Linked DNA regions of Homo sapiens: all the other regions are linked to region 3. Evidence: promoter capture Hi-C in 16 types of primary human blood cells and fetal thymus (Javierre and others, 2016). All regions are on one chromosome and are shown on one strand. Each heading gives the region's core, a stretch centred on a gene start or on the middle of the fragment in contact. The rest is flanking DNA. Distances are from core to core; before and after follow the strand shown.

Evidence for each region. Contacts are between HindIII fragments. The CHiCAGO score rates a contact against its expected background, and 5 or more counts as called.
Region 1: a fragment that was not itself captured here is called in contact with the fragment with the promoter of PKHD1L1 in region 3 in 1 of 17 cell types (megakaryocytes); the score reaches 6.3 in megakaryocytes.
Region 2: a contact is called between a fragment that was not itself captured here and the fragment with the promoter of PKHD1L1 in region 3, in 1 of 17 cell types (megakaryocytes). The highest score is 19.4, in megakaryocytes.
Region 4: a contact is called between a fragment that was not itself captured here and the fragment with the promoter of PKHD1L1 in region 3, in 1 of 17 cell types (megakaryocytes). The highest score is 5.5, in megakaryocytes.

What each region holds. Positions count from the first base shown.
Region 1 is chr8:109,531,631-109,534,330 of GRCh38, reverse strand. PKHD1L1 (PKHD1 like 1) reads right to left here. Exons shown (of 78, transcript NM_177531.6): 78 at 1-2,700. Among named protein-coding and RNA genes, the nearest start is that of EBAG9UORF, 6.7 kb to the left of the region's middle. The HindIII fragment of the contact is 8,383 bases long and covers 1-2,700 here.
Region 2 is chr8:109,549,183-109,551,882 of GRCh38, reverse strand. EBAG9 (estrogen receptor binding site associated antigen 9) reads right to left here. Exons shown (of 7, transcript NM_004215.5): 2 at 976-1,073. The coding sequence starts at 1,058. Among named protein-coding and RNA genes, the nearest start is that of EBAG9, 10 kb to the right of the region's middle. The HindIII fragment of the contact is 4,370 bases long and covers 1-2,700 here.
Region 3 is chr8:109,361,129-109,363,828 of GRCh38, reverse strand. PKHD1L1 (PKHD1 like 1) reads right to left here and starts at 1,368. Exons shown (of 78, transcript NM_177531.6): 1 at 1,176-1,368. The coding sequence starts at 1,248. The HindIII fragment of the contact is 8,587 bases long and covers 1-2,473 here.
Region 4 is chr8:109,565,756-109,568,455 of GRCh38, reverse strand. It overlaps EBAG9 (estrogen receptor binding site associated antigen 9), which reads right to left. Exons shown (of 7, transcript NM_004215.5): 7 at 2,460-2,700. Among named protein-coding and RNA genes, the nearest start is that of EBAG9, 27 kb to the right of the region's middle. The HindIII fragment of the contact is 730 bases long and covers 1,018-1,747 here.

The DNA of each region.
Region 1 (2,700 bases), core at 162-2,661, 170 kb before region 3:
CCACCATGCCTGGCTAATTTTTTTGTATTTTTAGTAGAGACAGGATTTCACTGTGTTAGCCAGGATAGTCTCGATCTCCTGACCTCGTGATCCGCCTGCCTTGGCCTCCCAGAGTGCTGGGATTACAGGCGTGAGCCACTGCGCCTAGCCTCAGATTAAAGTTGAAGCATTTCCATTCGGGAGGGTATAGTAGTAACTCAAAGATGCATGTGGTATTTTAACCTTGGCATTGTCCACCTTTCCCATTAGGAAGGATTAACTCTCTGTTCTCTTGATCCTTCCAAATTTTGCCATCTCAGACATCTGATGAAAGCAGGAGATTTAGGATAACCACCAAATAACAATGAAACCCTAAAGGAGCAAGGGCTGGTATAGGGCACCACAATGTCAGGAACCCAAACTCCTTTCAGCTGAGCTCTCTGGGTTCTGGAAGAGGTATAAAAATATTCTTCACACAAGGACATTGTAAAAGCCATAAAATTGTCCACCATCTTAGTCTTTTCTTACCTAAAGTTTTAATTCAATCCACTGGAATTTTTTTTTTGTCAAGATTTTTCTGTAGATTTTTAGTAAGGAGATTTTCTAACACAAGTTATGGAGCAATAAAAGGCACTGGCCTTTATCCTCCAGGTCTCAGGAGCCATCTTGCTCCATGTAGCTGGAAAAACAGAAAGGGATGAAGAAAAGGCAAAGGGATGCATAATAGCTATGTTTTAAGGTCAGTTTCTAGAATATGCCACGAGATAATGTCTGTTTTTGTAACCCACTGCACAGAAATTGATCAGTCTCACTGCAAGTGAAGCTGGGAAATTGTCTTTGTTCTAGGTGGCCCAGTGCCCAGCCAATAATTCTAATAATTAGCACTCACATGGTGCTTATTACATGCCAGGCACTGTTCCAGTGTAATAAGAAGCCTAATGGTTTACTGGGCCAGGGATTGACATGATATAGGCCACATTATGGAAATAAAAACAAGAGTGGCTATCATTTTACCGCCTGTTAGGCACTGTGTTACATGTCATATATATGATACCATCAGTCTTCAGATGTCACACTTTCCACATTTTACAGTTGAAGAAACTGAGAATAATGGAAACTAAGAACTTGCCTGAGGGCATAGAAGTGGTAAAGTAGAAACCAAGAATTTGAACAGGAATTTGGATTAAAAACTCTTCCCAATGAAGCACTTGCCCATGCTTGAGGAAAAGTGGGAAGCAATTAAATGTTGGAATTTGGGCTCTGGAGTTAAATTGTCTGTGTTTGAATCCCAGCTTTACCATTAGTAGCTCTGTGAACTTGGGAATTTAACCTAACCCTTCAACATTTCAAGTTTCCTCATTTGGAGAAGGGAATAAGGTTATCCTCATAGGATTGCTGTAAGGAAAGGGTCCATGTAGAACACACAGCATAGTGTCTGGCATGTAGTGAACATGTGATAAACCTTTACTTTATTATTGATTATTGTTATTATTAGTGCTAGGGATATTTTAAATAGCACTTTTGGGGATAAAATGGATAAAAGGTAAAAACAGATGGACCATCTAGAAGTCATTGCAATGATCACAAGGTGATGGAATTTAGGAATGAGTAGAGACAGTAGTACAAGATATAAACATTTCACTTACTATGAGAAATACAAGAAGCTATTCTTATTAACTTTTTATTCTCTGTTTCTTACTTTGACCAAAATTGGAACAACATATTTACTTCGCCAACATTTCAGGTCTTAGGTAGAAGAATATTCACACATCAAAGGATTTTTATGACTTGTTCAAGAGCTAGATAGCCACTTCTTACAATACAAATTATTTTTAAGAATTTAAACATCAATTTCTGAGACAGAATGTTCAGAGAAATATTATTTAAATGCAAAAAAAAAGCAAAAATAAAACTTGCTTAGCATATGAATAAGGGACATGTGAAGATGTATTGCCCATGGATTCCAATAATTCAAGCATTTTTAAAAGTAGTAATTAAATTGTAATTTATCTGGAATAAGGAATTATTATGATAATTCTAGAATGTTCTTAAAAAGCAGACAGCCAGAAGCCTAAAGCAGTTAAAACAGGAACTTTTTAACAAAGTCTGTGTGGCTAAGAAGCAATTTTTAGAAATTCCTTTTACTGCCATATAACTTGTATTAGAAAATTTCCTTATTAAAAACTGACAGAAAAAATCTTGACAAAAAACTCCAGTGGGCTGAATTAAACCTTTAGGTAAGAAAAGAATACAGATGGTGGACAATTTTATGGCTTTTACAATGTTCTGGTGTGAAGAATATTTTTGTATCTCTTCCAGAACCCAAATGTAGGAATTTGTTCCATAGATGCTGGAATTGCAGTTTTTGGAATTTAGTTTTCCAACAGAAAGGAAGTATCACGGAATGAACAGTAAACTAGATTTGCCTTAGGAAGACTGATTTTTAAGTCTCAGCGTGAAATGGCCCATGTTGGGTCTCTTTCCCCCTCCCTATCCCAGGAACAGAGGTTTTTCACCCCACCAGGGTTGGAACTGAGGGGAGTATAAAAGTGCTCTGTTACCTGGTGCTGTACAATGAAGTATCAATGCTCTCTGGACATGGCAAATGTTCCTCATGAAGGGGCTTTCATGTATACTTTGAAGACTACCTTGTCAGGGACCTCTTACCTGCAATTCCCTTAAAATTGTGACTATTTCCATTCCAGCTGTTCATTTGAATTT
Region 2 (2,700 bases), core at 62-2,561, 190 kb before region 3:
ATTTTTATTTTATTCTTAAATAACCACAATCACTGAACTTATTAATGAAATTTGTGTGCCTGTTGAACACTGCACAGCTTCTTATGCCTTAGAATAAGACTGGAGACCATCATTCTTGTTTTCAGTTCTACATTAATTTTGGTGCAGTACTCGCTTTTAATTACAACCTAAAATCCTGGCTTTGCAATGAGATGTCACCAAAAATATAAGTAAACAAAAACTTATCTCAAACATTAAAGAACACCATCATAAAAAAATACTGCAGGATTTAATGTTGCAAATGTGAACTACTTTGAGTTGAGGTATTCAACAGATGCTATCACTATGTTTCACTGCAAAATTTAAAATATTCTATGGCATCCCTGTGAATTTCATGTAAAGCCCTGAGGTGCCTCAGCACACATTTTAGACATCATAGCTCTTGGGTATGATCGTGTGACAAAACAGAAGGAACTGAAGTCTACAGATGATGTCCTAAAGCAAATGACTTACCTGCTCTTGACTTCCTGCATATTCTAGAATGTTACTCAAACAGAAAAAAAAATTTTTTTTTTTTAGGATTTTTCTTAGGATTTTTTTTTAAATATAAAAACAACACTATTGTAGTATAGACAGAAATACCTATTCCGAATTTCACCTAACCACTTTAAAACATTCCCATAATGAAACGAATACATCAAAGTTCTGTGATGATTATAATAATGAAAGTTGGTCTGTCTATTCCTAAATAGTATTAAGCATGTTATTTTAGTGGAAAGTGTAAGAATTTGAATGAACAAAACAACTGAACCTCTATTTTCTAGATCTGAAGTAGAGAAAAAGTATCTAAAAATGACTAGGAATTAATGAATAAATACTGCAATCAAGATATTCAGCTTAAATATAACCTGTCCTGTCCACGAAATTTGAAGTTTTGAAGGTATCCAAAACCAGCGAGGAGATAAACAGGTTAGTTTGAACATAAAACTTATTTACCTGCATATTAATCTCTTTAGGAATGAGAATACTGTTGCTAGGCAGGTACAAAATTTAAATAACCGAAACTGGGTGATGGCCATGGTGGGAATCAAAACCTGTGGAAGAGGCACAAAACAAAAAATGCATTAAATTGATTTCAAAAGTCATACTCCTGTCCTGAAAAGACCTATTATGCACTAAGAAAAATCTAAGATATTTTTTACCTTTCTCTAGAAACTATAACACAGTAAATTTTAAAATTATAATTTAAATCATATTAACAAGTCAAAAACCAGGTTTTCGAGTTTTCAATGGTTGTAAGGATAAAACCCTTCATTCTGAGTTTTTGAAAATAATTTTACCTAAATCTATTAATACAAAAATCTACAATTCAAAAAATAAAAAAGTATAAAATAGAATATATTAAATCTCTGTGTACCTTTTAAAGTTTGAACCACATGAACATAATACTATTTAAAATACTTTAAATATTTTTAACTTGCAGATGAATATATTTCCTTATATCCATTTTATAGATGAGGAAATTGAATTAAGAGAGGTCAAATAACTTGACCAAAGTCACATAGCTAGTAAATTGAAAGTTACCATGGAGCTCATTTAGTCCAGTGGTTCACAAATCTGGGAATCTATTAAAGAAATGCCAATACCTAGGAGTACCTCTAGTAAGTCCATTAAATCATATATTCTGAGGGGCAAGGACTGGTCATAACCAATAAGACAAGCAGGGAGATAAAAACTACTCAATTGAAAAGGCAGCAGGAAACAAAGAAAAGAGAACAAATAACACATGGGACAAGCCAAAAACAAATAAGATGACAGACGTAAATCTAACCATATCAATAATCTCATTAAATGCAAATTGTATAGCATTCCAATTGAAAAGCAGAGATTGTTAGATTGAATAAGAAAGAAAGACCGCCCCACTCCATGTTGCCAATGAGAAATGCATTTTAAATAAAAAGACACAAATAGGTTAAAAGTAAAAGGATAGGAGAAAATATACTATGCTAGCACTAATCAAAAGAAAGGTGAAGTGACTATTTCAATGTTAGACAGATTATAGGAAAAATAACATTACCAGGTATAAAAGTGGTCATTTCACAGTGATAAAGGGGTCAATTAATAAAAAGTACATAACAATCTAAAACACGTGTCCTTAATAACAGACTTTTGCCAATATCATAAACAAGACAGATAACATTGTTAGAGTCTGCAGATATTAAAAGGATACTGAAGAACTATTACAAACACCTTTGTGCCTGTATTTACTTGACAAGTGAGATGAAATGGACAACTTCCCTGAAAGACACAAATTACTAAAGCATAAGAAGAACAACCTGAAAATCTATATATCTATTAAAGAAATTATATTTGTAGTTATAAAAATCTCCCAGACACAGATGGCTTCACTGGTAAATTCTACAAAACACTTAGGAAGGAATAATACCAATTCTATACAAACTGCCAAAAAACTGAAGAAGGAATATTTCCCCAACTCATTATTTGAGGCCAGTATTACACTGATACTAATCCAAAGATATTACTAGAAAAGAAAACTATTAATATTCTATGAATCTAGACACAAATCTCCTTAGCCAAATATTAGTAAATTAAATCCAACAATATATAAATGGATACTACATTGTGAAAAACTGGTGCTTAGTTTGGAAATGTTGGATTGGTTTAACATTTAAAAATCAAATGTCATTCACTATATTAGCA
Region 3 (2,700 bases), core at 119-2,618:
ACACTGGCTTCTATAAAGAAGACATGCCCCTTCCACATTTTTAAGGACAAATATGAATTAGACTGGACCAGTTGTCAGAAAGATAAAGATAGTTCTAGATAGAGGGAACTGCCCGGGCAAACAGGATTGTGTGAGCTGCTTCTTTGGAGTATTGCAAATAATTCTTTAAAACAACTCAAAGCTACACAGTGGATAGAGGTGTTTATTTTCTGCTTACACTGTACAGATCTAGTAATTGCTGGAATCCTAAAAGAAATTTTCACAGTAGGTAGAAAAATTTAAGGGATGATACAAAGAAAGGCCACAGAAATTATTAATTTCTCAAAATGGATGTATATAAAAAGGCTAAGGGAATTATGATTGGCTTGTTCAGTTCTGTCTTAAAAAGGTTTAGAGTGGACTTCACCTATAGTAGCAAAAGCTCTCCAACATAAAGGAGACCAGTTCCGAGGCCCCAGACCCAGTGCCTCTGTACCTCGGGTCTGTCTTTGCCAAGAGCTCCAAGGTGTTCTTATTCCCGCACATTCATATCTCAGGGCAGCCCAAGAGTAGGAAACTCCAGCGGGGAAGCTGGATCCTATCTCCAGACAGTGCTGCTCCTCGCCTATCTCAGGTTCATCCTCCTGTTATCTCCACAGACAACTCCAATTTCTTATCTTATCAGTCTCTTCCCAGCCCTCTTCTGGGTATTACTTTGAAAACACAGGGCAGCTGCCCCTGGAAATGACTGACACCTGCCACGAAGTCCCATCCCCGTCCTACTGGGGGTTGTTGCCCTTTCTGTTGTGAGGAAAGCGACCCAAGAAGAATGGAGGAAAAGGGACTCAGGTTGCCTCTTCCCAGTCCCCACTCCCCCGCCAAATTTCAGTCTACTTGTGTCACTTTGTGGGTGCCGGTGGGAGATTTCATCATTCAAGTAGCAGCATTGATGAGTTAAAAGGCAATCTCTCGCAATCTCTTTCTCTGTGTCCTTGTCTCTGTTTCTCTCTCTCTGCGTCTGTCTCTGTTTGCTAGGCCTGCTATCCAGCTCCCCTGGTCCCCAGGATCGTCATGCAACCGCACCCACAGCCTCAGCCAGGTGCCAGGTGGTCCTGCCTCTCCCAGGACCCCGGGAGCAGGGGTAGTGTCTACGCGGGCCTCTCCTGCTTGCCTGCCTAGCGTGCCCAAAGGGTTACCTGTGCTGGGATCCGCGGCACACAGGAGCAGCCCACAGAGGCCCCAAATACCCAGGAGCCACAGGTGTCCCATTGAAAAGCCAGTTCTGCGGAGTTGGTGCCCTCCGCTCGCAGCTGGCTCTAGTGCTGGAGCTCGGCTCCTGGGACTGCGACTCGCTGGCGGGCCCGCTTCGTCCCGGGAGAGCTGGGGAACTGGGCCGCCCTCCCGTGGCCTGCCCCGCCCCTGCTGTCGGGCTGCTCCTCTGGGATTTGCATGCGCGCGCGGACACACACACACACACACACCCTGGAACCTTCGCGGGAGAACCAAGCCGGCCCCGAGCCAGTCCGTGATAATCAAACCTCCACACTCAAACCTGGGTGCTGCCTTCCCAAGGCTGTCCCCATAGGTGGAAGGGCCTTACTCCTTTTGGCGAAAGGAATCAATGGTCATTGAGGTCTCCCTAGGTCTCCTTCTCTATTTTCTTTTTGTTTTTTTTCTTTTCTTTTCTTTTCTCTCTTTCCCCGCGTACTTTCATCTGCCTGTCTGCCTTGGTCATTAATCCTCCCCAGGTGGGCCTATAAGACCACCTAATACACAAACCCCACGCGTGTTTACCCCTTCACATTCATATGAGATTGTGCTCTCTCTTTAATTGACAATCAGTAGACTTAGGGCGAAGGCTTACTGTTGGCATGGAGGGAGGTCCAGCACTGCTGACCTGTTTCTGGGATGCCAGATAGCAGACGAATGAAACGCAAGTTTCTCTGACCTCCCTGGAGAAGGCAGTTTATTATTCACCACTGAATGCTCCCCAGGGGCTAATTCCAAATCCTCTCACTGTTCTTAATATCTTAACCTCAGGATCTCTTGATTGCCCACCTCTCCCTACTCTTTAAAAGGTGAGAAGGGGCTGGGCACAGCGGCTCACGCCTGTAATTCCACCACTTTGGGAGGCCGAGGTGGGCGGATCGCTTGAGGTCAAGAGTTCGAGACCAGACTGGCTGACATGGTGAAACACCATCTCTACTAAAAATACAAAAATTAGCCTGGTGGGGTGGCGCATGCCTTGTAATCCTAGCTACTTGGGATGCTGAGGCAGGAGAATTGCTTGAAGCCGGGAGGCGGAGGTTGCAGTGAGCTGAGATCACACCCCTGCACTCCAACCTGGGCGACATAGTGAGACTCCGTCTCAAAAACAAACAACAAAAAAAGATGAGAAGATCCACCTACCTAGTTTGCAGTTTCTACATTTTAAAATGTTATGTGTTTTTAAAAGATATTAAAAGATTATTACCCAAATAGCAATGCATAAGCTTCTATTGGATCCTGGTTTGTAAAAAATAATAATAATAATATAAAGCTATGAAGGACGTTTGCAGAACAAATTAGGGAAAGTGAATATGGATTAAGTAACAAGTATTGAAAGATATTATAGAAGCGTTCATTTTATTAGGTATAATAGTGGTATCATACTTTAGTCAAAGAGTGTTTTCAAGTGATGGAATTGCATGATGAGGTATTTGGGGTCATAGTGTCTTTATG
Region 4 (2,700 bases), core at 133-2,632, 200 kb before region 3:
TACTATAATTTGTAATGCTATCTTCATTAAGAACTAGGAGAAACTTTAAAAGGCATTTTGGCGGCTCATAGTTCCGTCAAGAGAGGCCTTAGAAATCATAGTCTACATAGACTGTTGATTAACCACTATTATAACCTCCTCTCTAAGGTTGCTATTTTCCATTCCATTAATCAAGTACACAATTTATTTTCTAGGCCTTGGTTTCCTTATATGTGAAATAAGGGTAGTATCTCTTACAGGATTGCTAAGAGTCACTGATATAATTAGTCAAAGACTCAGACTTACAATAAATGTTTTCTTTCTTGCTAAATTTCAAGTTCAATTTAAAGGTGTATAAAATACTGCAAGATTAGGCAACTTCTCCCACTCTTTGCAGGGAAGGGGCTGCCAATACCACTGCATGGTGAGATGTGGGAAGTATATAGGGCCTCATACCAACTTCCAATTATTGAGTGCTTATACTGAACACTTATGTACAGTCTCAATCCTTACAACCACCATTTCCATTTAAAAGATTTGCAAACTCTGGCAATTTGTTTAATGCTGTACTACCTCTACAGAAGCTCTGAGAACTCTGGGAACCTCTCAGAGCCGGGGTGATCTGATCAATGTATATAAGGAAAGCATCTACAGAAAGATCCCCTGAAAAGAAGTCCCCTGAAAGGGAAGGCTGGGATTATCTTGGACTGGCCGCAGACTTTCAGTGAGCTTCTCTGCAAAAGTTTCCACTGGTGAACTAGCAGTGTCAGCAGGAGGTATGAAAGGATAGAAACAAATCTGTTGTTGAAGGTAAAAGATGGTCAAGGAGGTCCCTAGAATAGAGTGTTTCTTTCAAGCTATAGAAGATCGAAGGTGTCTGGTGAAAAAGCATTTTACTAGCTCTCAAAACCTACTCTGGTTATTGAGTATGCCCAATGGTCATGACCAAGAGGGATGGAAGATAAAAAGCAGAAGGCAATGTAAAAAAAACAAAAAACAGTTGAGTATAAAAAGAGTACCTAGCTGTTGCTGTAAGCTTGGGATAGTTTTGGTTAAAGAAAAGTGAAAGGAATTACACAAAGAAAAAAATAAATCTCTTCGTATTGTATTAGGACAGAGCAGTTCAAATTTAAAAAAAAAACTATGCAAATGACAAAAACAAGTTTAAGTTATTAGCTACTAAATATGCTCTTCATGAACCCACTATCTTCTTCAGCCCTCCAGTTCACCTGAGAGGGTATTAGCTCCTTCCCTGGAACAATCTGTAGGCTCTAGCCCACTCCCAACCTCCCAGCAGGGATCCATTCGGAACCCTGTCATGTTTGCTTACATGCCTGAAGATTTCCTTTGAGCAAGGGGTTTAAGGAGTATGAAAACCATCGTTGGTTATTCCAAATCTGAACTTCATAGGATCAAACAAGATGAGTATGTTAGCTCTGTCTGGCTCAAACCATCCTTTAGTAAACATACCATTCTCAACAAAATTCAGGCTTTTTGGAACACTGACTATGGTTAGGTTTACGCCATGGTGGTAGCTTGTAGAGTGGTGTTGGAAGCTCGATCCAGATGCTGGTTTCTGTAGGTACCTTCTGCCCAATCACCAATCTTCATGTAGAAACAACCTAGAAATAATCACCCAGAGGCAAGTGCATGTCAAAACTGAGAAATTCGGATGCAGAATTTCAAATTTTCAGTTCTAAAATGTCAACTCAATTAAACATGCTATACTAAAAGAAGAGCCAAGTAGAGAATATCCCTAGGTAAAGCTTAAGAAGAGGAAATGGCTAGAAACCATGAAATTACTACATAAAAAACAAAACAAAACAAAAAAAAACACAAGGTAAGTTTCCCATGTCTTTGATTACTTGTTATCTCAGTACATGAAATGCACGATTTTGCTAATGGTTAAAACTTCACTAATTCTATCTATGCCTACCAGTATTTCTTATTATTTCTAATAAGCATCTAAAACTGACAATTCTTTATTGAAATCAAGAAAACAAAAAATAGAAACCATAAATTTAGTAGCTAAAAGAGACAGTATGCTACCATGAATTGTTTGTCATATGCATTTAACTCAGTGACTACTTTTGGGACCAAAATATACCCAAGTTAATACAGGAATTTAGTTTACACATCAATAGAGATAAAATAAATTCCAGAATTGTTATCTATTCTTTCCACAAGAAAAATCTATTTCTTCCTAATCATACTAACTATAATTGCTAATGTCTTTATTTTTAAATAATCAAAAACCAAAAAGCCAAACAACAACAACAAAAACCTCAAACACATGAAAATCATGACCAAACCAAACTTAAATACTTTTCAGCTACTAGGGAAAAGCAATACAAGTAATTGAGCTAAAGGAAGTTATCCTTTATGAATTCCAAATTTAGAGAAGATATGTTGTATTCCCATAATAACTAACTATAAATACAAAGAAGGAAGAGAATACATTATTAAAACTTTGAGCCCAATTCTATTTAAGTTGGGAGTTTATTAGCAGAAATTCTAATGAATATAATAACTGGAAATATAATTTGGGGCTATAAAAAGCTCTGTACCAAAGTTAACTTTCATCTTATTCTATAATCACATTTAGTCTGAAAGCTTAGGCTAAGGGCTTAAAGGGTTCTCATTGTATAACTTATGATTTTTCTATAAAATATCACTTTAAGTAAAATAAATTAGTAAGGTTTGGCCTGTACAGTATCTATG